7 separate regions of the Homo sapiens genome follow, and regions 1, 2, 3, 4, 6 and 7 are each linked to region 5. The links are contacts of gene promoters, found by promoter capture Hi-C in blood cells and fetal thymus (Javierre and others, 2016). All regions are on one chromosome and are shown on one strand. Each heading gives the region's core, a stretch centred on a gene start or on the middle of the fragment in contact. The rest is flanking DNA. Distances are from core to core; before and after follow the strand shown. Region 1 holds the start of TAF9 (TATA-box binding protein associated factor 9). Region 2 overlaps AK6 (adenylate kinase 6). Region 3 overlaps RAD17 (RAD17 checkpoint clamp loader component). Region 4 overlaps CDK7 (cyclin dependent kinase 7). Region 5 holds the start of BDP1 (BDP1 general transcription factor IIIB subunit). Region 6 has its middle 2.2 kb from the start of KGD4. Region 7 overlaps CCDC125 (coiled-coil domain containing 125).

Region 1 (3,634 bases), core at 1,135-3,634, 2.1 Mb before region 5:
TTGATTCTCCAGGGGTGGGGCTCAGCAGATTCTGACGCCAATTCAAACTGCCTGCTGCTACCGGGGAACTGCTGAGAATAAAATTAGCCATCTCGTGCTGGGCGCAGTGGCTCATGCCTGTAATCACCGCACTTTGGGAGGCCGAGGCGGGCAGATCACAAGGTCAGGAGATTGAGACAATCCTGGCCAACATAGTGAAACTACATCTCTATTAAAATACAAAAATTAGCCGGGCGTGGTGGCGCGTGCCTGTAATCCCAGCTACTCAGGAGGCTGAGGCAGGAGAATCCCTTGAACCAGGTAGTTGTAGGATGCAGTGAGCCAAGATCGCGCCACAGCACTCCAGCCTGGCGACAGAGACTCCATCTCAAAAAAAAAAAAAAAAAAATTAGCCACCTCGAATCAATTACAATAATTTATTTACCTTTTTCTTTTTTTAAAGACAAGATATCTCTTTGTTACCTAGGCTGGAGTGCAGTGGAACTTGGCTCACTAGAGCCTTTACCTCCTGGGCTCAAGCAATCCTCCCATCTCAGCCTGTCCGGTAGCTAGGACCACAGGTATGCACCACCATGCCCTGGTTAATTTTTGTAGAGACGGGGTTTGGCTATGTTGCTTAGGCTAAGCTCAAACTCCTGAGCTCAAGCGATCTCCCCACCTCCACCTCCCAAAGTGCTGGGATTTACAGGCATGAGCCACCCACCTGGCCTATTTGCTTTAACTTATAAAGATTTAAAAACTGTTCATGGCCACGTGTGGTGGCTCGCGCGTGTAATCCCAGCAATTTGGGAGGAGAAGGCGGGAGGATCGCTTAAGCGCAGGAGTTCGAGACCAGCCTGGCCAACATAATGAGACTCTGTCTCAAACAAAAACAAAAACAAGAACAAAAACAAAACTGTTCATGTTAAAATTAAGCAGTCTGAAAATTACCTCTACTGACCCCTTGCGCCCTTCCCTAGAGATAACCACTGTAAACCAGTTTCCTTTCCCAAAGAAACCCTATTTATGTTTGCATGTAAATGTACATATATGTACATACTCTTTGTTATATAAATACAACACATATTCCCTTTTACATAAATGACAATACTATATACATTGTTCTTTACCTTCCCCTTCTGATACCTATTAAAATTACATTTCAAGATCATCAAATTCATAATTTTCAGCTATTCAGATTTAACATCCCTGAAATTAAACTTAAGCATAAAGATAACAGGGATAATCCAGTTCCCATACCCAGGAGAATAACGGTCACCTCAAGTCCACTATAATACACCAAGTCTGAACCCTGGACTCAACATGTTTTCAATAAAATGTTCACTTTAAAGTTTTGACAATGACTTAATAACCAGGGCACTATGTTTGATCCATGCAAAAAGATGTAAAATCTTCCGCTTAAGGAATCTAAAATTCTAAACGTTATTTGTGGGGTGGTTAATCTGCACCTCTCAGAAACAGACATGTCTTGTGCGCTGCCAACAATTTTACCTTTGGGTGAATGATGTAACTTTACTGTTCCCACAAAGAGTCTTAATTTTTCTGTACCTTGCAATAAAATCTACATGCATTAGATTTTTCCACGAATGGCCTACAATTTGATAAACACTTTCAGGACTAAACGGCTAGCAAAAATATTCGTTAAAGTCGTTATGCAGCATTTTAATTCCCTTCACTGATAACATGCACCCTGAGTATGGCTTCAAAGACCCACTCCTACGCGAGAAACGACCCGAAATGCTCTATATGCCTTCCTTTTAAGGGGCGGGGGGATCCTTTGATGTAACTCAACAAAAGCATACAGCAATTTCGTCACGTCACAAACATCTGAACTCGTTTACCGAAATCTAATCTGAGGCGTTTATCAGAAGCAAAGAAAAAATAAAATACGGCCCACGGAGGCCTAAGGAGTGAGGCATCCACCATTAATGACTCTACCGGGAAGCAGATATGGCCTTACGTTATTTCGCTAAAAATCCCAAGGCCAACCCTGCCAAAGAATCAACAACCCATTTTACAAACGAAATACCAGATTCAGAAAGACTAAGCAGGTTGCCAAGCTGGAGAGCTGGATCTGCCGACCTCTCTCCACCCCCCCCCGCCCCCCCCCGGAGCCTCAGGCCAACGGAATTAACGTTCCGCGTCCCCTCCCTCGCCTCCCGCAACGCCCGCGAGGGTCGGCTCCCGGGGCGCTGACAACCGCCTCGTGGCCCTCGGCCGGCCTCTGAAGAGGGCAGTGAGGGGCCCCCACCTGGGCGCCCGATGCCCAGAGCACTCTGCGCCCCCAGCCTGCCCCAGCCCAGTCCCTCCCGGCCGCGCGCCCTGACCGGTGAGCAGGATGTTCGGAAGCAACATGGTCCCCGCCGCGACGGCTTCGGGCGCCTCGCTCACGTGCCCTTTGCTCTACAGGGAGGAGCCGGAAGGGGCGGGCGGCAGCAAAAGCCCACGGCCCCAAAGGCCCCGAAGCCCACCGCGGCGCCCCTAGCCTGCCCCGGCGGCCCAGCCGCGGCCCACTGGTTACCTGGCTTTCGATGACACATTTCCGTCGCAAAGTTGGAGGGTGGGCATAACTCGGGTCGGTACTTCGGGTCAGGCAGTGCGCTGGATGCCTAAGTCACACACTCCTTCGGTGGTCCCCGCCCTTCGCTTGCGCCGACCAGTCTGGAAGGTCCCCGGGAGGCCGTACCTCCGAGAGGCTCGGCGTTGAGCCCGGGTAGGGCCAGGTGGCTGCCCTTTCACCTAGGGTAGTCCCTGGTCGCCTCCGCTCTTCGCCTAAAAGGGGATGCAGCTCCGGGAAAGTAAGGCCGCCGCGGTTGCGGCTATATTATGTATATGTCTTAGAGACGTGAGTCTATCTCTGCCTTCAAGCTTTCCTGGGCTCTCGTCGCTCCTCCTCCCGACCCGCCCATCCCATCTGGGGATGAGAAGATTGAGGGTGCAGAGCCCTGTCCTGCAGCGGGGATTTGCGAGCTCAACCCGGCACCCCACTGATTACAGGATTACGTTGGACGAATATTTGAGCTTAGTATTCCCTGTTCACTGTGTGGGGTGGTGGTGGGTCGGCTAGGAATAGTCTTGAAGGTCTACCTCTGACATCTCATTTCAGTAACCTCGCATCTTCAGGGACAGTTATCTGCTTTTTAAAGGAGGTAATTGTCAATCTTGTTTTCAAGAGTGAATAGAGACCTGACCGTGACAACAGTCTGCACCTTTTTTTGTTTGTTTGTTTGTTTTTGTTTTGTTTTGAGACGGAGTCTCACTCTTGTCGCCCAGGCTGGAGTGCAACCTCCGCCTCCTGGGTTCAAGTGATTCTCCTGCCTTAGCCTCCAGAGTAGCTGGGATTACAGGCGCCCACCACCACGCCCGGCTAATTTTTGCATTTTTAATAGAGACGGGGTTTCACCATGTTTTGGCCAGGCTGGTCTCAAACTCCTGACCTCAGATGATCCGCCCGCCTCGTCCTCCCACGGTGCTGGGATTACAGGCATGAGCCACCGCGTCCGGCCCCTGGTCTGCATCTTTTATTTCGAGCTACAAACTATATTTACTCAAATAGGTGTTTTTTTTCCACCTGTATACCTTTTGAAACGTCACAGTCTCTAATCGTGAACGATTTGGGGCGGAGGGCTGAACA
Region 2 (3,730 bases), core at 130-2,629, 2.1 Mb before region 5:
TACTTTTTAGCTATTATCTTGGATAAGCCACTTAACTCTTCTGTGCCTTGGTTCCTGTAATGGAAATAATAATAACATCTACCTCAGAGAGTGGTCATGTGGATAAAGAATTCACTTTTGAAATGTGTTTAGAAGTTTATGTCATAGTAATATATTTACTCTTTATTATTCTTGCATCATTGTAATAGTAAAAAGCTGGAAACAGCCTAAATGTCCATTAGTGAGAGGACTGATTAAATCAAACTTGGCATGTCTTTTTTTTTGAGACAAGTTCTCACTCTGTCCGCCCAGGATGGAGTGCAGTGGCTCAATCACAGCTCACTGCAGCCTCGACCTCCTCAGGCTCAGGTGATCCTCCTGCGTCAGCCTCCTGAGTAGCTGGGACTATAGGTGCATGCCACCACTCTGGGCTATTATTTTATTTTTATTTATTTATTCATTTTTTTGGAGACAGTGTCTCACTCTGTTGCCCAGGCTGGAATGCAGTGGCACAATCTGAGCTCACTCCAACCTCCGCTGCCTGAGTTAAAGCGATTCTCCTGCCTCGGCCTCCGGAGTAGCTGGGATTACAGGCATGCACCACCATGCCTGGCTAGTTTTTGTATTTTTGGTAGAGACGAGATTTCACCATGTTGGCCAGGCTGGTCTCGAACTCCTAATCTCAAGTGATCCACCTGCCTTGGCCTCCTAAAGTGCTGGGATTACAGGCATGAGCCACTATGCCCAGCCTCTTTTTTCTTTTTTTTAAATAGAGACGAGGTCTCACTATGTTGCCCAGGCTGGTCTCGAACTTCTGAGCTCAAGTGATCCTCCCACCTAGGCCTCCCAAAGTGCTGAGATTACAGGAGTGAGCCACCATGCCTGACCTATTTTTTTTTTTTTTGCGACAGAGTGTGGCCCAGCCTGGAGTGCAGAGGCACTATCTCGGCTCACTGCAAGCTCTGCCTCCCGGGTTCATGCCATTCTCCTGCCTCAGCCTCCCGAGTAGCTGGGACTACAGGTGCCTGCCATCACGCCTGGCTAATTTTTTGTATTTTTAGTAGAGACGGGGTTTCACCGTGTTAGCCAGGATGGTCTCAATCTCCTGACTTCGTGATCTGCCTGCCTCGACCTCCCAAAGTGCTGGGATTACAGGCGTGAGCCTCCGCGCCCGGCCTGGCCTATTTACTTAATTAATTAATTTATTTATTTATTTTTAGGAACAGTGTTTCACCATGTCGGCCAGGTTGGTCTCAAACTCCTGGGCTTAAGTCATCCGCCCGCCTTGGCCTCCCAAAGTCCTAGGATTACAAGTGTGAGCCACAGTGCCTGGGTACTTGGCATATCATTAATGGCTTTTTTTTTTTTTTTTTTTTTTTGAGATGGGAGTTTCACTCTTATTGCCCAGGATGGAGTGCAATGGTGCAATCTCGGCTCATTGCAACCTCCACCTCCTCGGTTCAAGCGATTCTCCTGCCTCAGCCTCTCAAGTAGCTGAGATTACAGGCACCCACCACCACGCCCGGCTAATTTTTGTATTTTAGTAGAAACAAGGATTCACCATGTTGGTTAGGCTGGTCTCAAACTCCTGACCTCAGGTGATCCACCCACCTCGGCCTCCCAAAGTGTTGGGATTACAGGCATGAGCCACTGGGCCTAGCCTCATTAATGCCATTTTATGCAAACATTAAAAAGATGAGGGATCCAAAGAAGATAAACCAATAGGCACATGAAAAGATGCTCATCATAAATCATTAGAGAAATGTAAATCAAAACCAAAATGTGATATACTACTCACCCACTAGTATAGTTATAATAAAAAAGATGGGAGTTGCCAGGCAAGGTGGCTCACGCCTGCAATCCCAGCACTTTGGGAGGCTGAGGCGGGCAGATTACCTGAGGTTGGGAGTTCGAGGGAGAAACTCTGTCTTTACTAAAAATACAAAATCAGCCGGGTATGGTGGTGCATGCCTGTAATCCCAGCTACTTGGGAGATTGAGGCAAGAGAATCGCTTGAACCTGGGAGGTGGAGGTTGAACCCTTGAACCTGCAGTGAGCTGAGATCACGCCATTGCACTCCAGCCTGGGCAACAAGAGTGAGACTGCCTCAAAAAAAAAAAAAAAAAAAAAAAAAAAAAGGCCAGGCGCGGTGGCTCACGCCTCTAATCCCAGCACTCTGGGAGGCCAAGGTGGGCAGATCACGAGGTCAGGAGATCGAGACCATCCTGCCTGACATGGTGAAACCCCGTCTCTACTAAAAATACAAAAATTAGCCGGGCGTGGTGGCAGGCGCCTGTAGTCCCAGCTACTTGGGAGACTGAGACAGGAGAATGGCGTGAACTCGGGAGGTGGAGCTTGCAGTGAGCCGAGATTGCACCACTGCACTCCAGCCTGGGCGACAGAGCAAGACTCCGTCTCAAAAAAAAAAAAAGATGGGATCAAGCAGTCATGGTGTTCTCGATGCTGGAGGGCCTACTTGACCTATCACCAGAAGGTGTTGCTGCTTTGTAACCAGGCGCTGTACCACCTCAAGCCATGGTGCATCCAGAGATAAATAATGGTATATTTTGCCTGTTTGATGAGAGCCTGGTTTGAAGAGCATAGGAAAAAAAAAAAGGGTATGATGGAGGCTACCCCACTGCTGAGGGAGGCAGAGGAATTCTGGTATCGTCAGCATTCACAGCCATTCTCTTCCCTGACTCTCTGGGGGTACTTCCTATGAGAGATACGAGTGATATGCTACAAGTCTCTGGAGTGGTGCTTAGATGACTGGAATCCTTCTGAGAAGGCAATGTACCCTGATTACTTAGCCAAGAGAGAGCAGTGGAAGAAACTGCTGAGGCAAAGCCAGGAGTGAGAGGTTAAGCAGCTGCAGGAGGAAATCCCAACTGGTGGTCTAGGACTGAAGCTTTGCCCCCTGTGGTGGTATATTGTGACCAGACCCCGGGAGTGGCCCATGTAGAGAGACAGACCTCACCCTGTCATGCCTGCAAGTGAAGTAAGTTACAGAACATACACACACACTTAGCCTAATAAAAATCGCTGAAATGGTAAAAATCAACAAATATAGACCGTAACAAGTGTTAGCAAGAATGTGAAGAAACTGAGTCCCTAATACATTGATGGTGGGAACATAAAATGCTGCAACCACTTTGGAAACCAGTTTGGCATTTCCTCAAAAAGTTAAACATGGTTGCCCTATGACCCAGCAATTCCCCTCCCAGGTATATGCCTAAGAAAACTGAAAACATACATCCACATGGAATCTTGTACATGAATGCTCATAGTATGCTACTATTATGTATTCAACTTCACAATACCCAAAGTGGATACAACCCAATTGTGCAAGTGATGGAAACATAAGCAAAATGTGGTAAATCCATATAATGGAATATTATTCAACCATAAAAAGGAATGAGATATTGGTACATGCTATAACTTAGATGAACCTTGAAAACATTATGCTAAGTGAAAGAAACTGGACACAAAAGGCCACATACTGTATAATCCCATTTATATGAAATATCCAGAATATGCAAATCCATAGAGACAGAAAGTAGACTAGTGACTGCAAGGGGATGAGGAGGAAAGAATAGAGAGTGACTGCTAAAGGGTATAGGAGTTCCCTTTATCATCACTGCTTCCTCCACAGTGGTGACAGTTACATAACCTTGTTAATAAGCTAAAAACCAACGGATTATAAATTTTATTTATGTTTATTTTTAGAGTCTAAGGTCTCACTATGTTGCCC
Region 3 (3,750 bases), core at 621-3,120, 2.1 Mb before region 5:
ACTCTTGAGTTCTAAATATTAGACTTAAAAATGAAACTTGGGTCAGGCATGGTGACTCATGCCTGAAGCCAAGGTGGGTGGATCACTTGAGCCTAGGAGTTTGAAACCAGCCTGGGCAACATAGCAAGACCTTGTCTCTACAAAAAAATTAAGGAAAAAAAATAAAAACCCAAGAAATGTGATCACATGCATATTCATAAATTGGATACTCTCAACATCAATAGAGAGGTTGTTAAACATAGATTGCAGAACCAGGCTGCCTGGATTCCAGTCATTCACTCACTGATGACCTTGAGCCAATGACTTTACCTCTTTGTATCTCATTTCATTAACTGTCTAATAATAATTGGTCAGGTGCAGTGGCTCTCGCCTGTTATCCCAACACTATAGGAGACTGAGGTGGAAGAAAGCTTCAACCTCAAGAGTCTGATACCAGCCTGGGCAACATAGCGAGGCCTCGTCTCTAATTAAAAATATATATATATATAGCCAGCATGGTGGTGCATGTAGTCCCGGCTACTTGAGAGGCTGAGGTGGGAGGATCACTTGAGCCTGGAGGTTGAGGCTTCAGTGAGCTATGATTGTGCCACTGTACTCCAGCCTGGGTGATAGAGCCAGACCCTGTGTCAAAAAAAAAAAAAGGCCGGGCATGGTGGCTCATGCCTGTAATCCCAGCACTTGGGGAGGCCAATTTGTGTGGTTGGGAGGTTGTGACCAGCCTGGCCAACATGGTGAAACCTCATCTCTGCTAAAAATACAAAAATTTAGCCGGGCATACACCTGTAATTCTAGCTGCTCGGGAGGCTGAGGCAGGAGAATCGCTTGAACCCAGGAGGCAGAGGTTGTGGTGAGCCGAGATCACACCACTGCACTCCAGCCTGGGCAACAGAGCGAGACTCCATCTCAAAAAAAAAAAAAAAAAATTCTCCCTTCACAGGGTTGTTATGAAGATTAAATTCCTATGTATTACATGCCAAGAACAGTATCTTGCACATAACACGATGAGAAACCAAGGCGATGTGACTGTACAGGTTGAATATCCTTTATTTGCAATTTTTGGGAATAGAAGGATTGCAGATTTTTTTAAGATTTTGGAATATTTGCATTATACGAATTGAAAATCCCTTGTCTGAAAATCTGAAATACAAAGTGCTCCAATGAGCATTTCCTTTGAGCATCATGTTGGCACTGCAAGTTTCATATTTTGGAGTATTTTGGAGTTTGAATTTTTTGGATCAGGAATGTCAGCCTATATTAGAGATTGTGCTATTGTGCATGTGAAAGTTTGAAATCTGCATTATGAAATAACTTTCAGATAATACTTTATTCCATTTTAATGTTAGTAACCCAAAGAGGATTCCAACTCAGTTAATGTCATTTATAATTTTTGTTTATTAGGAAAACAAATTGTAATTAGAATATTTAGTGTAACTATATCTGAAGTGTTCTTAGTTTTAATTTTCATATTTTAATTTAAATATTGTCACTTGGATGTATATTATTCAGGAGAAAACAACTTACGGCCAAGGAAAAAAGGAATGTCTTTAAAATCAGATGCTGTGCTGTCAAAATCAAAACGAAGAAAAAAACCTGATAGGGTTTTTGAAAATCAAGAGGTCCAAGCTATTGGTGGCAAAGATGTTTCTCTGTTTCTCTTCAGAGCTTTGGGGAAAATTCTATATTGTAAAAGTAAGAAATTTTTACACTTTTAAAATCTGTTGGATATCACATAGTCTTAAAATGGAAATAAAATGTCACTTTTAAAAAAATGTCATGTATTTTGGTTCTGCTCTAAGAGTTAGAGCTAGGTCAGATACTGTTTGCCTAGGCCTAAGACATAGTAGGAAATCAGAATATTTTCTGACCGTAAGCAGGATTAAAAGTAAAAACATGCAATTGCAGGCCATATCCATGTGTGTAAATCTTTAAAATTATAGTTTGCTGAAGGTAAGAGAGCAGATCATCTAGACTTGTAGTGGCAAGTGTTGGTAGCCTAAAGCCCTCTTAACACTGGGCTCCAGCCAACAGAGCCTTATACAAATTACCAGGTAGTTTAAGGTTTCTTTCAATCGTCTTGTATTTCTCTAATTTACAAGCGTTCTGTCTCCCCAACCAGAGATGTTTATCGCCTTTTCTGTCTTTTTTGATGACTGCTCCCCCTCAGTTCTTTCACTCCCTATTGCCCATTTTAGTGTCCCAAATAATCCCTCCTTTTGATAGCAAATGCCTGTTTTCAGTCTGATGACCCTAAAGGAAAGAAATTAGGATTTCTAAATGGAAACCTTCATACCATCTGAGGAAAATGGGCATCACTTAGGTGGCAGTGAGGACACTCCTCTGTCACTGGATCCTCTTACTTTGAACCTGAGTGACTATTCCCACCTGATTCTTTTCTTTCTCTCCTTTCTTTTCCTCCCCAACATACGTTTATCGTCTCTTGCATTAGTGAATGGAATTCGTATTCTTTCATGTAGAGAGCAACATCTTCCTACATAGTAAATAAAAGAGTAAAGACCACTGTATTGAGATGAGAAATCAAGGGAAGAAAGCAACCCAAAGCTGAAAAAGGTGAAATGGGAGTGCATTAGGAAATGGAATATTTTAAGTCTAGAGAAGCCATAATCTAAGCATCAGAATTGTTAATTTAGTTCTTGCTAATGTGGAAAAAATAGGTGCTTGCTTCCAGTTGTTTTTTATTTATTTATTATTTTTTAACAGTTTGTTACTATGTTGGTATTGTATGTCTAAAATTTTCAAACTCTTCAAATGAGAGGTGCTATATAATTATAAAGAAGGTATTATCTTTAATAATTCCAGAAATTTTTTATAGGAGCATCTTTAACAGAATTAGACTCACCTCGGTTGCCCTCTCATTTATCAGAATATGAACGGGATACATTACTTGTTGAACCTGAGGTAAGTTCTTTGATGACACTTAGTATAGGTTACAAAGGATATATTATTCGTGTGCATATATATTTGACCATTGCATTTTTACCAAATTTATGTATATATGCTTCTTTTTATAGGAGGTAGTAGAAATGTCACACATGCCTGGAGACTTATTTAATTTATATCTTCACCAAAACTACATAGATTTCTTCATGGAAATTGATGATATTGTGAGAGCCAGTGAATTTCTGAGTTTTGCAGATATCCTCAGTGGTGACTGGAATGTAAGACCATTTGACTTAAAATGTTTATGTTTATAGTATTTCCTTAGAATTAAGAAAAGAAAGTTTACTTTTATCCCTAATTGCCTGACATTATTTTATGTGACTTTTCTTCATAACTATGCTAAAGTTAATGTAACCAACTCAGTGTTTATAATGAAGCTTCAGTAGCAAATCTGATTTTTCTGCTGATAATATAGCACCAATTGTTTCTAAAGTTATTTTCTTTTTTTCTTTTTTTTCTGTGTGTGTGTGTAGAGACAGGGTCTTACTGTGTTGCTCAGGCTGGTCTCAAACTCCTGGGCTCAGACAGTCCTCTCACCTGAGCCTCCGAAAGTGCTGGGATTACAAGCGTGAGCCACCACACTCCTGTCTCTAAATTTTCTGATTTTGTGTTTTGTGTTATGGTGGTTTTTTTTTTTTTTTTTTTTTTTGAGAAGAGGCTCTATCTACAGCTATGTTACCCAGTCTGGTCTTGAACTACTGGGTTTAGGGAATCCTGTCCTCTCTGCCTTCGAAGTAGCTAGAAATACAGGCACACACCACCATGCCCAGCTTATTTTTTTTTTTTTTTCGA
Region 4 (3,940 bases), core at 666-3,165, 2.2 Mb before region 5:
CCTCCTACCCAGGCCTCCCAAAATACTGGGATTGCAGGCATGAGCCACTTGTGTTTTTGTTTTTTTGTTTGTTTGAGACAGTCTCTCTCTGTTGCCTAGGCTGGAGTACAGCAGTGTGATCATGGCTCACTGTAGCCTGGGCTCAAGCAATCCTCCTGCTTCAGCCTCCTGAGTACTTGGGACTGTAGGCACGTGCCACCACTCCTGGCTAATTTTTAAAAATGTTGAGTAGACACAAGGTCTTGCTATGTTGCCCAGGCTGGTCTTAAACTCCTGGGATCAAGCGATCCTCCCACCTTGGCCTGTCAAAGTGTTGGAATTTACAAGTGTGAGCCACTACACCCCGCCAGTCTTTTCTTGATTACTGACAGTTTTCTAAAAAGCAGTGAGAGAATGTTCTTTACCCAGGTAATTTATTTTGTGTAAGACTAAACCTGTTAATGTAATTTGTTATGTTTATTCAGAGTAACAACATTTTAACCATCACAATTTGTAATTTTGCTTTTTGAAAAATGTGGTGTCTAAGAGCATATTATTGGGCTTATTACCAACTCTACAGCATGTTATTTTCTGTATCTTTCCTCCCAAGTAGCCTAATTTGAAGTTACGTATTTATTTTTAATCAGGGTACCCTTAGTTATTTGGTCCACATTGAACCTTGAAAAGGTAAAATAGATTTTTCTTAATTTTATTATTTGAATGTGTAGTTCAGAAACTTAAGGGACAAGGGTAGGTATTTGATTCTCTCTTATATTGTTAATTTTATCTTTCTGATCATGATTCCTACTCTCTTTTTGCCTAGTAGGTACATATTGGTTGCTAATTGTTTTTTTTTCTGTGGCGAAGTATTTGAAGTATTTACACATTATTCATTGATTCTAAATAATTTAACACATTTTTAATATATTTGGGTTTTTTTCCGTTTCTACCAGATCAAACTTGGACATAGATCAGAAGCTAAAGATGGTAAGTATTTCATGTAATCTGACAGATAGGAAAAGTTTTCTCCTTTTTTTTTTTTTTTTTTTTTTTTTTTTTTAAAAAGACAGGGTCTTGCTCTGTCACCCAGGCTGGAGTACTGAGACACAATCGTAGCTCACTGCAGCCTCAAACTTAGGTACTCAAGCAGTTCTCCCACCTCAGCCTCTTGAGTAGCTAGGGCTGTAAACATGTGCCACCACTTGTGGTTAATGTTTTATTTTTTGTAGAGATGAGGTCTGGCTGTGTTGCTCAGGCTTCTCTCAAACTCCTGGCCTCAAGCTATCCTCCCACCTCGGCCTCCCAAAGTGCTGGGATTACAGGCTTGAGCCACCATGCCCAGCATAAAGTTTTCATTCTCACTGAAGAAACGAGCAAAGTATGAATTAATAAGTTAGTAATGGTTCTGGATAGAGTTACTGCAGGGTCCCCGAAGAGTAAAGATAGACTCAGCATAGAGAAGGAGTATTTGGTGATTTTTACTTACTGGATATTCAGAGAAACATTCCAAATCACCCACATAAATGGAAGGCAGCAAGCTTAATTAGTTTGTCTTTCTGTCTTCATTACTGTTTTAGGTGTTACAAGCCATTGTTTTTTCTGTTTCTGAGTTTCTAATTACTTTGAAAATTCAGGATACATTTTCATGAAAGTACATAAAGCTTACTATGGAATAGATACATGAGGAAATTATTTCATTAAACTTTCTTCCAAAGTCTTATTTATTAGGATTCATCATAAAATAGCTCTTACAAAAGAGACCCATTGTCTGTGTAAGTGCCAATACTATATCTTATTTTTATTTTGTTTATTTTTTTTGAGACAGAGTCATGCTCTGTTGCCCAGGCTGGAGTGCAGTATCGCAATCTCGGCTCACTGCAACCTCTACCTCCCGGGTTCAAGCGATTCTCCTGCCTCAGCTTCCTGAGTAGCTAGGATTACAGGTGCACACCACCATGCCCAGCCAATTTTTTGTATTTTTAGTAGAGATGGGGTTTTGCCACCTTGGCCAGGCTGGTCTCGATCTCCTGGCCTCAAGTGATCTGCCCACCTAGGCCTCCCAAAGTGCTGGGATTACGAGCCACCGCGCCCGGCCTGTATCTAATTTTTAATTTTGAAATCTGTCATTTGTATTGGAAAATATACTATCTTATCACTAGTTTGCTTTTAGCACAAACAATATGCCACTAATATTTGTAGGGCAAGAGTAGGGAAGCTTATCACCTATATGCTGCACACTTATATATGTTGTTAGTCTAGTAGTGGTGTTCAGATCCTGGTATAGATAAGGTGAAATATTTTTCACCATTTGTCGTAGTCTTTGTTAAGCTATTTTAAAAGTAAAGCAATATTGGCCTGGTGCCATGGCTTACGCCTGTAATCCCAGCACTTTGGGAGGGTGAGGTGGGTAGATCGCCTGAGCTCAGGAGTTCGAAACCAGCCTGGCCAATATGGCAAAACCCCATCTCTAACGAAAATACAAAAAATTAGCCAGGCGTGGAGGTGCACACCTGTGGTCCCAGCTACTCGGGAGGCTGAGGTGGGAAAATTACTTGAGTCTGGGAGGTGGAGGCTGCTGTGAGCCGAGATCATGCCACTGCACTCCAACCTGGCTGACAGGGTGAAACCCCATCTCAAAAAAAATAAATAAATAAAAATAAAGCAATGTAAAAGAACAACAGATTTGACATAAAAATTGTCAAAGTAGCCCTTATTTTTGTGGGTAATGTTCACTATTTTCTGAGATTACTAACCTTTCTTTAAAAATATGTGTTTGTGGCTGGGTGTGGTGGCTCACGCCTGTAATCCCAGCACTTCAGGAGGCCAAAGCGGGTGGATCACGAGGTCAGGAGTTGGAGACCAGCCTGATGAACATGGTGAAACCCCGCCTTTACTAAAAATACAAAAATTAGCCGGGCGTGGTGGCGCGTGCCTGTAATCCCTGCTACTCTGGAGGCTGAGGCAGGAGAATTGCTTGAACCCGGGAAGCAGAGGTTGCAGTGAGCCGAGATCACGCCACTACACTCTAGCCTGGGCGACAGAGCGAGACTCCATCTCAAAAAAAAAAAAAAAAAAGAAGTGTTTGTAAGGTTTGAGATTTCAGAATTATTCACTTTTTGCTTTGCCTTTTTATATAGGTATAAATAGAACCGCCTTAAGAGAGATAAAATTATTACAGGAGCTAAGTCATCCAAATATAATTGGTGTGAGTATGATCAAAACTGTTACTGGGATTTGGGACTCTGCCTTTTCTTAATATAATGGATGTTGATTAAAGGCTCAGCAAGATGACTTGTTCTGGATGAGCCTTGTAGAAGCTTAAAGGAAATACATTTTCTATCCCAGTTGTTTTGGTAGGCATTGTCTTCAAAACTATACCACTGATTAAATAAATGAAATATTGACATGTAGGCTAATTTTGTCGGAAATAATTTTGAAGTCTAGGGAGCTCTAGCATGTAGTGGCTGAGAGTGTCAACCTGAATTCAAAACCTTTCTTTCTGCCTGTGTGAGACCTTGAGTGTGTTCACTCACAACTCCCCAGAGTCCCTGCCTCATAGGGAAGTTGTGAGACTAGCCAATTGAATAGATGTAAAGTATCTGGAATAGTGCCTACCATAGAAAATGTATTCATTCATTCAATGATAGCTGCTGTTATTTAGAGGATTTCTTAAGAATCACATTTGGGACTTTTCTTTTGAATTGGAGACTGGAATGAGGTTTTCATTGGTTAATTTCTTAATTCTAACTCCAAATATTTGGGGAAAGAGGTTGGGTATTTTTTTAAGTAAAATTTAATATTTTTATGCTTCAAAATACTAATTCCTTTAGTACTGTCCAAAAAAGGACAAATGTCAAATTTAATCAAATGATTTAAGCTTTATAGGGAATTACCAACAGTTTAAATGCTTTTTAAATTTTTAAAAATTGCCTCAGTTGCTATGATACTGTCAGGTATTAAA
Region 5 (3,821 bases), core at 47-2,546:
TAAATTTATTTCATGACATTTGATATACTTTATTTTATTGCAATTAATTAATTAATTCATTTATTTTAAGACAGAGTCTCACTCATTCTGTTGCCTAGGCTAGAGTGCAGTGGTGCCATCTTGGCTCCCGGCAGCCTCCACCTCCAGGGTTCAAGCCATTCTCCTGTCTCAGCCTCCCATAGCTGGGATTACAGGCTTGCACCACCAGGCCTGGCTCATTTTTGTATTTTTAGTAGAGATGGAGTTTAACCATGTTGGCCAGGCTGGTCTCGAACTCCTGACCTCAAGCAATCTGCCTTGCCTTAGCCTCCTAAAATGCTGGGATTACAGGCATGAGGCACCCACGCCGGGCCTGATACATTTTAAAAATATCTTGTTCATTTCTTTTTTGTATTTTCTCCTCCCAAATCCAGAACGTCTTGTTTACTGCTACCTCCTGAAGCAGATTAAGAACACTCACAATAATTTACAAGGTTTCAACTATAATAATTTTTAAACAGGCTGGAGTGTAGTGGTACGATCTCGGGTGATACATTCATATTAAAAAGTACACAAGGAGGTTGGGCGTGGTGGCTCACGTCTGTAATCCCAGCACTTTGGGAGGCCAAATGGGTGGCTCGCTTGAGCCTAGGAGTTCAAGATCAGCCTAAGCAACATGATGAACCCCGTCTCTACTAAATATACGAGAAAAAAAAAATTAGCCGGGTGTCGTGGCGCGTGCCTGTGGTCCCAGCAACTTGGGAGGCTGTGACGGGAGGATCGCCTGAGCCCGAGAGGTGGAGGCTGCAGTGAGCCAAGATCGCGCAACTGCACACTCCAGCCTAGGCGACAGAGCAAGACCCTGTCTCAAAGGACAAAAACAAAAAAGTACACAAAGGCGTACGGTAAATGGTCTTCCTACCACGACGTGTTTTCCAGAAACACATTCCTCTCCTGGGAGGTAACTATTATCAGTTTCTTCACACCAGCATTTTTAATCTATGTCTACTCAATTTAGAATTTCTAAACCCTTCAGGATCTTCAAAAGACAAAATCGGCCAGCGATTTTAATAGTTCCAGTAAAGGTTTGAGCAGAGAAGTGGACTTTCTTCTGTTCCTCTTTTCAACTACTCCTAAGGACTCCTGGAGAAGAAAGAGCAAATATCTCTGCATCTCAATTTCTGGTCCGCAGGTAACCCAGTCTCAGTAGCTTGGTAGTTACCATGGCTCCCAGTGCTGTGCGTCTGACGTCATTCTGCGGCGCTGGCTGATGGCGCAATCAGTTGCGGCGTCCTGTGAGCGCGGGGATGCTGGGAGGAGGGTGAAATTTAGCCATCGGTGTGTGGCAGGGTCATGAAAAAGCGGCGGCGGCGGGAGAGAGGAGGAGGCGGCGGCGGGGCAGTGAAACTACGGTAGCTGCCCCCTGAGCTGGTGGTGTGGCTTTGTGGGGAGGGCGTAGTTCCTAATCCCCTTTCCGGGCAGCCGCCGGGGCTCGGGGCTGTGAGCGGCCGTGAGGCTGCCTCCCCGGGCCCCCTGCCTCCGCCATGTTCCGCAGGGCACGCCTTAGCGTGAAGCCGAATGTCAGGCCTGGTGTAGGCGCCAGGGGCTCCACAGCTTCCAATCCCCAGCGTGGACGGGAGTCTCCCAGGCCGCCGGATCCTGCCACGGACTCTGCTTCCAAGCCCGCGGAGCCCACAGATGTGCCCACAGTCGATTTCGGTGGAGCGGAGCCCCAAGAAAAGGCTCCTAGGAGCAGGTAAGAGGTTGCAGAGGGAAGAATTTTCATTTGTCCCGCCTCTCCGGGCATGTCACCTGGAAGCTGAGCAAATGAATTTTATCACAGGAGTCCGCTCTCGTTTGCAGTAAGCCTTTCAGTTGAGGCTTGATGAAACCACTCCAAACTGCAGTTTAGTTGTCTGACCTGCAGGGTGTGGCTTGTGTGGATTTTGTCACGGTCTATAGATTCTCCGAGAGGAGACCATGTCTTCAAGTGGTGGTAGGGAGAATCGGGGTATGGCAGTCCTGAAGTGAAGAATATCCACACTATTCATTTGAGAATTTAGGTCACTATAGTTTTCATCCTTCTGGAGTGCTTTGCAGGGAAGTGTTTTTGTCTTTCAATTTATAAAATATTTATTTTTTAAAGGAGAAGATAAGTATTGCTTTGGCTTTACCGATTTATGTCAGTGAGTAAGAGTTCTGGTCACTTAATTGAAGTGTGCCTCTTTAACTATGGTGACCGTGTTTCCTGAATAGAGAAGCATGGCTTTAGCGTCATGTATCATATTTGGATTCAGGACTCTTTTAGTCTACAGGTAAACTTTTCTCAGGCAGAATTTGCTCATCTGCAAAATGGGAATAATATTGCCTACTTGGAGCGTTTTGGTGCAGATTGGAGATAATTCATATTAACTACCTTGCAGGGGATATAGCAGAATAGTTGCCCGCAAAAAGTTACTAGTTTTTTAGAAAGGTGATGGAGTAAATTTAAGACATGTTAGGCTAAGATGGTCTCTGTTTCTATATATATGAGGAAATCAGTAAACAGCCTTGTTAAGTGAAGTGAGATAGTACAAATTCTGTTTATGCTGTGATAGGAAGGTGAAACATTTATTTATTTTTGGAACATCTTCCTCTATTGGCCTGAACTGGTGCTGAGTGTATGGTGTTACGTTGATAGTTCAGTGATGGTTAGTAATTTCCAAGTTTATTACATGAATCTGTTTCAAAATTTCTACACAGAAAGGAGATACCGATACTAGTCGCTGTTACATTAATAAAGTTCTCAGAGATTTCGTTAATTATGTGTGAGTGCGTGATGGTTGATAATTTAATAAATTGCCCAAAGATTGTAGTTTTGAGATATTTATGGTCAAGGATATTTAATTTTTTTTTTTGAGTTGACATTTACGTTTGGGGAATATAATTTGTTTTTTAGTCACTTTTTTTGCCATTACTGACTCTGGGAAAGTGGTTTTTTTTTTTTTTTTTAATTAGTTTTTTTTTTAGATGGAGTCTTGCTCTGTCGCCCAGGCTGAAGTGCAGTGGTACGGCTCACTGCAACCTCCACCTCCCGGGTTCTTGCAATTCTCCTGTCTCAGGCTCCCAAGTATCTGGGACTACAGGCGTGCCCCACCACGCCCAACTAATTTTTGTATTTTCAGTAGAGACAGGGTTTCACCATGTTGGCCAGGCTGGACTCGAACTCCTGACCTCAAGTGATCCACCTGCCTCAGCCCAAAGTGCTGGGGTTACAGGTGTGAGCCACCGTGCCCAGCCTCTTTTTATTTTTTTGTGGGTCTTTGCTAGTTGTAAAACTCTATAGGATATATATTCTGTCATTATGCATTCAACATAATTGGGTGAAATGCAGATAATGCATGTATCCATAACAGCTAAGATACGAATTTAAATTGAAGTCTTCCTGGAAAGGTTATTCTATAAGTTAAGGCATTTTCTAATTTTTTATAAGTAATTATAAAATAGGAAAAAAGTAGACTGTTTTTAATTATTGACTTATACCACCTCTTTTCTTGACTTAAGTTGCATTTATAGACCATTCCTGAAATACTTATATCTGAGGTATACCATACCTAATATGCAATTTGGGGTGACTGAGTACTTTTTTTGACTGAAGTTTATTCTGATGGCTGTATAAGTAGAGTTGTACCTGACAAAAGATAAATGATTTCTGCCTCAAAGGGAATTGGGTTTGGCTACTGTAACTAAATGTTTTTCTTCAAATACTGCAATACAGATATTTCAGAGGTTTGGAGTTTTGCATATTTGATTTGACTGACCTCGGGTTGATAAGTAAAGTAAAATGCCGGTAGTTTAGACCA
Region 6 (3,811 bases), core at 392-2,891, 2.2 Mb before region 5:
CTGCTGGGTTGGAACTGTGCCCATCAAAACCATGGGGTAGGGCTGCCCCGGGGCTTTGGGGGTCCAACCCCCAGCCCAATGCATCCTGAAGGCAAGATACTGAGTCAAGAATTATTCTCAAGCTTCAAGAGTTAATGTTGTTGGCCTTTTGGGTTTTTAACTTACTTGGGACCTATTACTCCTTTCTTCTTGCCTATTTCTCCCTCTTGGAATGGGAATGTCAGTCCTGTTCCTGACCCATCATTGTGTTTTGGAAGCACATGTATTTGATTTCACAGGCTCACAGCTGCAGGAGAAGTTGCCTCAGGATGAGTCATGGCCTTGAGTCTCATCCATATCTGATTTAGGTGAGACTCTGGACTTTATAGTTTTGAGTTGGTGCTGGAATGAGTTGAGACTTTTGGGGCTACTGGGATGGATAAATGTATTTTTGGGTTTTTTTTGTTTGTCTTTTGAGACAGTGTTTCCCTTTGTCCCCCAGGCTGAAGTGCAGTGGTACGATCTTGGCTCACTGTGAACAACTTCCGCCTCCCAGGTTCAAGCAATTCTCATGCCTCGGCTTCCAAGTAGCTGGGATTATAGGCATACACCACCACGCTCAGCTAATTTTTTTTATTTTTAGTAGAGACAGGGTTTCACCGTGTTGGCCAGGCTGGCCTGGAATTCGTGACCTCAAGTGATCCGTCTGCCTCAGCCTCCCAAAGTGCTGGGATTACAGGTGTGAGCAACAAGCGTCCGATAAATGTATTTTGCATGTGAGTAGGACATAAATTTGGGGGGCCAAAGGCGGTAAGCTATGGTCTGACTGTGTCCTTCAAAATTCATCTATTGAAAATTGCTAATGTGACAATACGAAAAGGTATTGGAAATGATTAAATCATGAGTACAGAACCATCATGGATGAGATTAAGGCCCTTAAAAAAAGGTTTGAGGGCCAGGCACAATGGCTCACACCTGTAATCCCAGCATTTTGGGCGGCCAAAGTGGGCCGATCACCTGAGGTCAGGAGTTCAAAGCCAGCCTGTCCAACATGGCAAAACCCCATCTCTACTAAAAATACAAAAATTAGCTGGGTGTGGTAGAGGGCGCCTGTAATCCCAGCTACTTGGGAGGCTGCAACAGGAGAATCGCTTGAACCCAGGAGATGGAGGTTGCAGTGAGCCGAGATTGTGCCACTGCACTCCAGCCTGGGTGACAGAACAAGACTGTCTCAAAAAAAAAAAAAAAAAAAGTTTGAGGGAATGGGTTCCTTCTCTTCTGCCCTTCTGCCATGTGAGCACACAGTGTTAAACCCCTCGGATGAAGCAGTGTTCAAAGCACCATCTTGGAAGAAAAGACTGAGCCCTCACAAAACACCGAAACTGCTGGTACTTTGATCTTAGACTTTTGAGCCTCCTGAACATGAGAAATAAATTTCTGTGGTTATAAATTACCCATACTAAGGTATTTTGTTACAGTAGCACACATGGACTAACAGAGGAGCTAATCAACATTTATAGAATACTCCACCAAACAACAGCAGAACACTCTTTTCAAGTGCTTACAGAACATAAACAACATAGACCATATCCTGGATGACAAAATATCAACAAATATAAAAGAATTGAAATTATACAGACTGTGTTCTGACTACAAGGGAATCAAATGAGGAATCAGTAACAGTCAGATAACAGGAAAATTTCCAAATACTTGGAAACTGAACACACTTTTAAATGAGGCATAGGTCAAAGGAGTCTCAAATGAAAATTTTCTAAAAAGCATTGAACTGGGCCAGGTGCGGTGGCTCACACCTGTAATCCCAGCACTTTGGGAGGCCAAGGTGGGCGGATCACCTGAGGTCAGGAGTTTGAGATCATTCTGGCCAACACGGAGAAACCCTGTCTCTACTAAAAATACAAAAATTAGCTGGGCGTGGTGGTGGGCACCTGTAATCCCAGCCACTCAGGAGGATGAGGCAGGAGAATCAGTTGAACCCAGGAGGCAGAGGTTGCATTGAGCTGAGATCATGCCACTGCATCCAGCCTGGGTGTCACAGCGAGACTCTGTCTCAAAAAAAAAAAAAAATTATCGGCTGGGCACGGTGGCTCACACCTGTAATCCCAGCACTTTGGGAGGCTGAGGCGGGCAGATCACGAGGTCAGGAGATGGAGACTATCCTGGCTAACACAGTGAAACCCTGTCTCTACTAAAAATACAAAAAAAATTAGCCTGGTGTGGTGGCGGGTGCCTGTAGTCCCAGCTACCTGGGAGGCTGAGGTGGGAGAATGGTGTGAACCAGGGAGGCGGAGCTTGCAGTGAGCCGAGTTGGCACCACTGCACTCCAGCCTGGGTGACAGAGCAAGACTCTGTCTCAAAAAAAAAAAGAATTACCACAGATGAATGGATAAGCAAAATGTGGTATACACATATAATGGGATTTTTTCAGCCTTAAAAAAGAAATTCTGACACATTCTACAACATGAATGAACTCTGAAGACATGCTAAGTGAAACAAGCTAATTACAAAAGGACAAATACTGTTATGGCTCCACGTACATTAAGTACCCACAGTAGTCAAATTCATAGACAGAAAGTAAAATGATAGTTGTCAGAGGCTGAGGGAAGGAGGAATAAGTTTTTGTTTAATGGGTACAGTTTCTGAAGATGGTAACAATTGCCCAACAATGTGAATGTACTTAATGTGACTGAACTGCACATTTGAAAATAATTAAAATGGGGCCAGGCGCAGTGGCTCACGCCTGTAATACCAGCACTTAGGGAGGCTGAGGTGGGTGGATCACTTGAGGCCAGGAGTTGGAGATTAGTCTGGCCAATATGGTGAAACTCTGTCTCTACCAAAAATACAAAAATTAGCCAGGCGTGGTGGCGGGCGTCTGTAATCCCAGCTACTGGGGAGGCTGAGGCTGGAGAATTGCTTGAATCCAGGAGGCAAAGGTTGCAGTGACCTGAGATCACGCCACAGCACTCCAGGCTGGGCAACAGAGCGAGACTCCGTCTCAAAAAAAAAAAAAAAAACCACAAAAACAAAACAAAACAAAACGGGTTAATGGCCTCTCTGTAGTCACTGAATCCCAATAGACCATACCTGGGTTCAGTAATTTATATTTCTAAAAAGATCCCAAGACTTAGAAATCACTGATGTATATCATCAAACACATTGGTCAAGCTTACAATACTATATATAACCTAAGCATTATCACAGAACGTAATGTAACTTTTTTTTTTTTTGAGACGGAGTCTCCCTCTGTCGCTCAGGCCGGAGTGCAGTGGCACACTCTCGGCTTACTGCAACCTCTGCCTTCTGGGTTCAAGCAATTCTCCTGCCTCACCTCCTGAGTAGCTGGGACTACAGGCGCCCGCCACCACGCCCGGCTAATTTTTGTATTTTTAGTAGAGACAGGGTTTTACAATGTTGGCCAGTCTGGTGTCGAACTCCTGACCTCAAGTGATCCGCCCGCCTCAGCCTCCCAAAGTGCTGGCATTACAGGCGTGAGCCATAGCGCCCCGCCCGTAATGTAATTTTGGGGGAAAGATATGAGTGGCTTACATTTCAAATATTTCTGAATTTTTGAGTTATCTCAACTTGAAGCAAAGGCCCAGCAGTTCGATATCAGGAGTAATAAACGGTAAAGAAAACAGAAACAAATTACAATCAAGCAATGCCAATCAGCAAGAGAGTGTGACATGGCCCTTTTTAAGCCAGAGTAAACTCTTGTGAGCTTGCCACTAACTCCCATTTTAACGAAATTATTCATTTTAGGAAACCGCAAGGTTTTTTTTTTGTTTTTCTTTAATTTTTTTAATCTTTGCAA
Region 7 (4,000 bases), core at 838-3,337, 2.2 Mb before region 5:
GTGCCGCCCTGCCATGCGGCACAGCCACCCCTCTGTGCCAGCTGACACACAGGCCACACAAGAACACAGTCCATGTCACTGGATCATCACAGTCTTCAAGAGCAGCCAGAAATGCAGATCTGTCATGACATCTTCCAATTCTAAATGTCAGCCACTAGTCTTATTGTTTGACTACACTAAGCCAACCTAACAAAACATGTCTGCAGGCCACAGGGGGCCTCTGAGCCATGCAAACTCTGCTTCCGAACAGCAAAGACCTGGACTTGAATCCTCATTCAGCCACTTACTAACTGTATGACCTCGGGTGACTTTTCTCAGCTTGATTTCCTCATCTCTAAAATGAGAATAGCATTACCTTCTTCTCAGGGAACTGTGCCATTAAATAATAAATCACACGGGCTGGAGAAGGGGAAGTGAGGAGTTACTGTTTCATGGGACAGGGTCTCTGTAAAGAAAGATGAAAATGTTCTGGAGCTGGATGGTGATGAAGGTTACATTACAATGTGAATATACTTAATACCACTTAAAAACAGTTCAAATGGTAAACTATATATATATATATATATATATATATATATATATATATATATATAATTTTTTTTTTTTTTTAGATGGAGTCTTGTTCTGTCACCCAGGCTGGAGTGCAGTGGCGCAATCTCGGCTCACTGCAAGCTCCGCCTCCCGGGTTCGCGCCATTCTCCTGCCTCAGCCTCCCGAGTAGCTGGGACTACAGGCGCCCGCCACCACGTCCGGCTAATTTTTTTGTATTTTTAGTAGAGATGGGGTTTCACTGTGTTAGCCAGGATGGTCTCGATCTCCTGACCTCATGATTCGCCCCCTCTTGGCCTCCCAAAATGCTGGGATTACAGGCGTGAGCCACCGCGCCCGGCCAACTTTAGATATATTTTACCACCATCACGACAACAACAAAAAATACCACAATTGTCAAAGGCCCTGCTCAGGTATTAGCATAATATTTAATATTTCACGTGCTGACATCATTGATGTCCTTCTTCATCCATTGAAGGAAAGTAATTTGCAGAAGTTATAAAATCTCAGATTGTACAAGGAAAATTTCAAGAATGTTTTTGGAATATTCTCCAAAAGTGGTTTAGTGGGAAACTGAGAGCAGATGAGGGGAGATCCCCTTCCCACCAATCCTGACAGACCACAGTGACGAGGGCGGCCCTGACCCCTTCCACGAGGAGCTGTGGCAAACAGAAGTCAGAGAAACTGACACTTTGATGAGTAGATGAATCTGTGTCCCTATTTTCAGTCTAAAAAAAGAAATAGCTTGGTGTGATGGCTCAAGCTGGTAGTCTGGAGGATTGCTTAAGCCCAGGAGTTTAAGATAAAAAAAAAAAAAAAAAAACCCAAAAGCAAAAATACAAAGAAAGAAAGAAGTATGCCTATAAACTACTTCCGGAAACTTGTCTAAACTGCCATATCAAAAAGAAAGTTGATATTAAGTGTTACTAAACATAAAATAATCTGTATCACCCTGTACCTCTTAAGATTACTGAAATATACTAATAAAATGAATTAAAGTCTTGTCACTGAGAAACTGAGAAAGAACTACTCAAACTTGTATAGATTTATAAAAGCTGTGCGAGATTAATCAATTTTTTTTTTTTTTTTTGAGATGGAGTCTCGCTTTTGTCGCCCAGGCTGGAGTGCAACAGCGCAATCTTGGCTCACCACAACCTCTGCCTCCCGGGTTCAAACATTTCTCCTGCCTCAGCCTCCCGAGTAGCTGGGATTACAGGCTTGTGCCACCACACCCAGCCAATTTTGTATTTTTAGTAGAGACAGGGTTTCTCCATGTTGGTCAGGCTGGTCTCAAATTCCCGACCTCAAGTGATCCACCCACCTCAGCCTCCCAAAGTCCTGAGATTACAGGCGTGCCACTGCACCCGGCCATCAGTTTTTGGTGGTTTTTTTTTTTTGAGACAGGGTCTTGCTCCATCACCCAGGCTGGACTGCAGTGGTGGGATCATGACTCACTGCAGCCTCAGCCTCCCAGGCTCAAGCGATCCTCCCACTTCAGCCTCCCTAGTAGCTGAGACCACAGGTATCTACCACCACACTTGGCTATTTTTTTTTTTTTAATAGAGACAGGGTCTCCCTATGTTGCCCAGCCTGGTCTCAAACTCCTGAGCTCAAGCAATCCTCCTGCCTCAGCCTCCCAAAGCGCTGGGATTACAGGCATGAGCCACTGTGCCCTGCCTATATCAATTATTTAAAATTCTGCCTTCAGTCTCTCTCAGTGCCTTACTGGAACTCAGAGATTGGGAGCTATACCCCTCTGAATTGCATTTTTTGTGGGAATCTTCCTTAGATTTGTCAATAGCTGAATGTGATATTGTAATATAAGAAATATATATTTGGTCTTTGCCCTCAGTTCCTGACATAGAGCTCCTAAAATCCTAGTAGATAGGGGTGTTAGGTGAATCTTTTCTCATAGTTGGTCTTTGACCCCAGTTCCTAACACACAATTCTTAAGACTGTAATTTCCTCAGTGCTAGGAGCATCTGACACAGAGCCCCTAAATCCCTTGGAATTTCCTGGGTAATAGAAGCATCTTTTGTTCTAATGAGGCTCTTGATGGGCTCCTGGATAGCCTCAGGATGGGGGCTGGTTGCCAGGGGAACCAATCTTGTGATTAGAAAGCTGGAACTTTCAGCCCTAGCCCCCAAACTCCAGGGAAGCGAGAGGGGCTGAAGGTTGAGTTGATTACCAATGGCCAATGATGTAATCACCAATGGCCAGTGATGTACCGTGTCCATGTAATGAAGCCTCCATAAAAACCCAAAAGGGTCTGGGGAGCTTCCAGATAGCTGAGCATGTGAGGTTCCTGAGGGGTGGTACGCCAAAGAGAGCATCCCTTCCCACGTGCCTTGCCCTGTCCATCTCTTTATCTGGCTGTTCATCTGCATCCTTTGTAAGATCCTTTATAATAAACTGGTAAACGGAAGTGTTTCCCGGAGTTCTGTGAGGCATCCTAGCAAATCAATGGAGCCTGAGGAGGGCGTCATGGGAGTCCCAATGTACATACAGCCAGTCAGTCAGGAGCAGCAGAGACAACTCTGTGCTTTTGACTGGCATTTGGAGTGCAGGCCATCTTGTGGGACTGAGCCTTTAACTTATGGGATCTGACTCTAACTCCAGGTAGACAGTGTGAGAATTGAGGGAAATGATAGGATACCCAGCTGGTGTGTGGGGAATCCCCCACCCCTAGCATCTGGTGTCAGAAGCGCTGAGCTGAGTGGTAAGTGCTGTGTGAATAGGAAAACACTTTGGTTTCCCCTGTCTCTTACACTGTGGAAGGTAGGAATTATGGAACATCAAATGCACATATTCTCAAGTGCTGAAATGAGTATGAATCTAGCTCTTGAGAAAAATGCAGCTTTGTCTACACTGCACTATCCTAATGGCCAAGCTCCACACAGGGTTGCAGGCCTTGCAGGCAGGTGACAGGGTCTGACAGGCATTCGTAAGATTAAGATTACTTTAACCCTGACTTTCCCCTTCGTCTCTTCTTTTTCCCATCACTTTTCTTTCCACCTCTATCAAAACAAACAAATATTTACAATCTGACTTTCTAAGAAGATCTGCCTTCAATTAGCACAAAACACCAGGGCTGTCCTCAAAGAGGATTTTACAATCCAACTGCTATTAAGGGCTTAGCTGAGAGAGGAGGTGTCTGAGGAAGATTATCTACACATAGCTGTGGTCCGTGGTAGAACCAGGTATTCTTAGTGTTTTCCACTGGTTCCTAAAAGGCTAAATACATGGACCATGTTAGCTTTTTCCCTGGCAAAATCACCTAACCTGGATTGAACATTAAAGTTGTACCTTCAGCTTTTATGAAGAGTTTATTATAGAAAATGACCATATTATCTAAATACATTATTTTGTATTTATTATAAGACATTGTTGGCCAGGTGCAGTGGATCACATCTGTAACCACAGCATTTTGGGAGGCCGAGGAGGGAGGACC

The links. Contacts are between HindIII fragments. The CHiCAGO score rates a contact against its expected background, and 5 or more counts as called.
Region 1: a contact is called between the fragment with the promoter of TAF9 here and the fragment with the promoter of BDP1 in region 5, in 10 of 17 cell types (naive CD4 T cells, total CD8 T cells, non-activated CD4 T cells and 7 more). The highest score is 18.2, in naive CD4 T cells.
Region 2: a contact is called between a fragment that was not itself captured here and the fragment with the promoter of BDP1 in region 5, in 2 of 17 cell types (naive CD4 T cells and M1 macrophages). The highest score is 5.8, in naive CD4 T cells.
Region 3: a fragment that was not itself captured here is called in contact with the fragment with the promoter of BDP1 in region 5 in 4 of 17 cell types (naive CD8 T cells, naive CD4 T cells, total CD4 T cells and 1 more); the score reaches 6.0 in naive CD8 T cells.
Region 4: a contact is called between a fragment that was not itself captured here and the fragment with the promoter of BDP1 in region 5, in 2 of 17 cell types (total CD4 T cells and naive B cells). The highest score is 8.0, in total CD4 T cells.
Region 6: a contact is called between a fragment that was not itself captured here and the fragment with the promoter of BDP1 in region 5, in 2 of 17 cell types (naive CD4 T cells and total CD4 T cells). The highest score is 5.8, in naive CD4 T cells.
Region 7: a contact is called between a fragment that was not itself captured here and the fragment with the promoter of BDP1 in region 5, in 1 of 17 cell types (naive B cells). The highest score is 5.3, in naive B cells.

The regions. Positions count from the first base shown.
Region 1 is chr5:69,367,136-69,370,769 of GRCh38, forward strand. TAF9 (TATA-box binding protein associated factor 9) reads right to left here and starts at 2,385. Exons shown (of 3, transcript NM_003187.5): 1 at 2,328-2,385. AK6 (adenylate kinase 6) reads right to left here and starts at 2,385. Exons shown (of 5, transcript NM_016283.5): 1 at 2,328-2,385. The coding sequence starts at 2,355. It overlaps RAD17 (RAD17 checkpoint clamp loader component), which reads left to right and starts at 2,683. Exons shown (of 19, transcript NM_133338.3): 1 at 2,683-2,798. RefSeq lists an enhancer at 2,937-3,486. The HindIII fragment of the contact is 4,867 bases long and covers 1-2,866 here.
Region 2 is chr5:69,347,508-69,351,237 of GRCh38, forward strand. AK6 (adenylate kinase 6) reads right to left here. Exons shown (of 5, transcript NM_016283.5): 5 at 3,477-3,730. It also overlaps the pseudogene NDUFB9P1. Among named protein-coding and RNA genes, the nearest start is that of CCDC125, 17 kb to the left of the region's middle. The HindIII fragment of the contact is 3,012 bases long and covers 1-2,885 here.
Region 3 is chr5:69,390,325-69,394,074 of GRCh38, forward strand. It overlaps RAD17 (RAD17 checkpoint clamp loader component), which reads left to right. Exons shown (of 19, transcript NM_133338.3): 13 at 1,507-1,689; 14 at 2,831-2,916; 15 at 3,030-3,176. Among named protein-coding and RNA genes, the nearest start is that of RAD17, 22 kb to the left of the region's middle. The HindIII fragment of the contact is 2,925 bases long and covers 409-3,333 here.
Region 4 is chr5:69,251,486-69,255,425 of GRCh38, forward strand. It overlaps CDK7 (cyclin dependent kinase 7), which reads left to right. Exons shown (of 12, transcript NM_001799.4): 3 at 933-966; 4 at 3,117-3,184. Among named protein-coding and RNA genes, the nearest start is that of CDK7, 19 kb to the left of the region's middle. The HindIII fragment of the contact is 554 bases long and covers 1,639-2,192 here.
Region 5 is chr5:71,454,355-71,458,175 of GRCh38, forward strand. It overlaps BDP1 (BDP1 general transcription factor IIIB subunit), which reads left to right and starts at 1,297. Exons shown (of 39, transcript NM_018429.3): 1 at 1,297-1,735. The coding sequence starts at 1,524. RefSeq lists enhancers at 232-1,158, 1,159-2,084. The HindIII fragment of the contact is 8,261 bases long and covers 1-3,821 here.
Region 6 is chr5:69,213,651-69,217,461 of GRCh38, forward strand. No RefSeq gene overlaps it. Among named protein-coding and RNA genes, the nearest start is that of KGD4, 2.2 kb to the right of the region's middle. The HindIII fragment of the contact is 3,043 bases long and covers 121-3,163 here.
Region 7 is chr5:69,285,642-69,289,641 of GRCh38, forward strand. All of the region lies in intron 10 of CCDC125 (coiled-coil domain containing 125), which reads right to left. Among named protein-coding and RNA genes, the nearest start is that of CCDC125, 45 kb to the right of the region's middle. The HindIII fragment of the contact is 4,874 bases long and covers 1-4,000 here.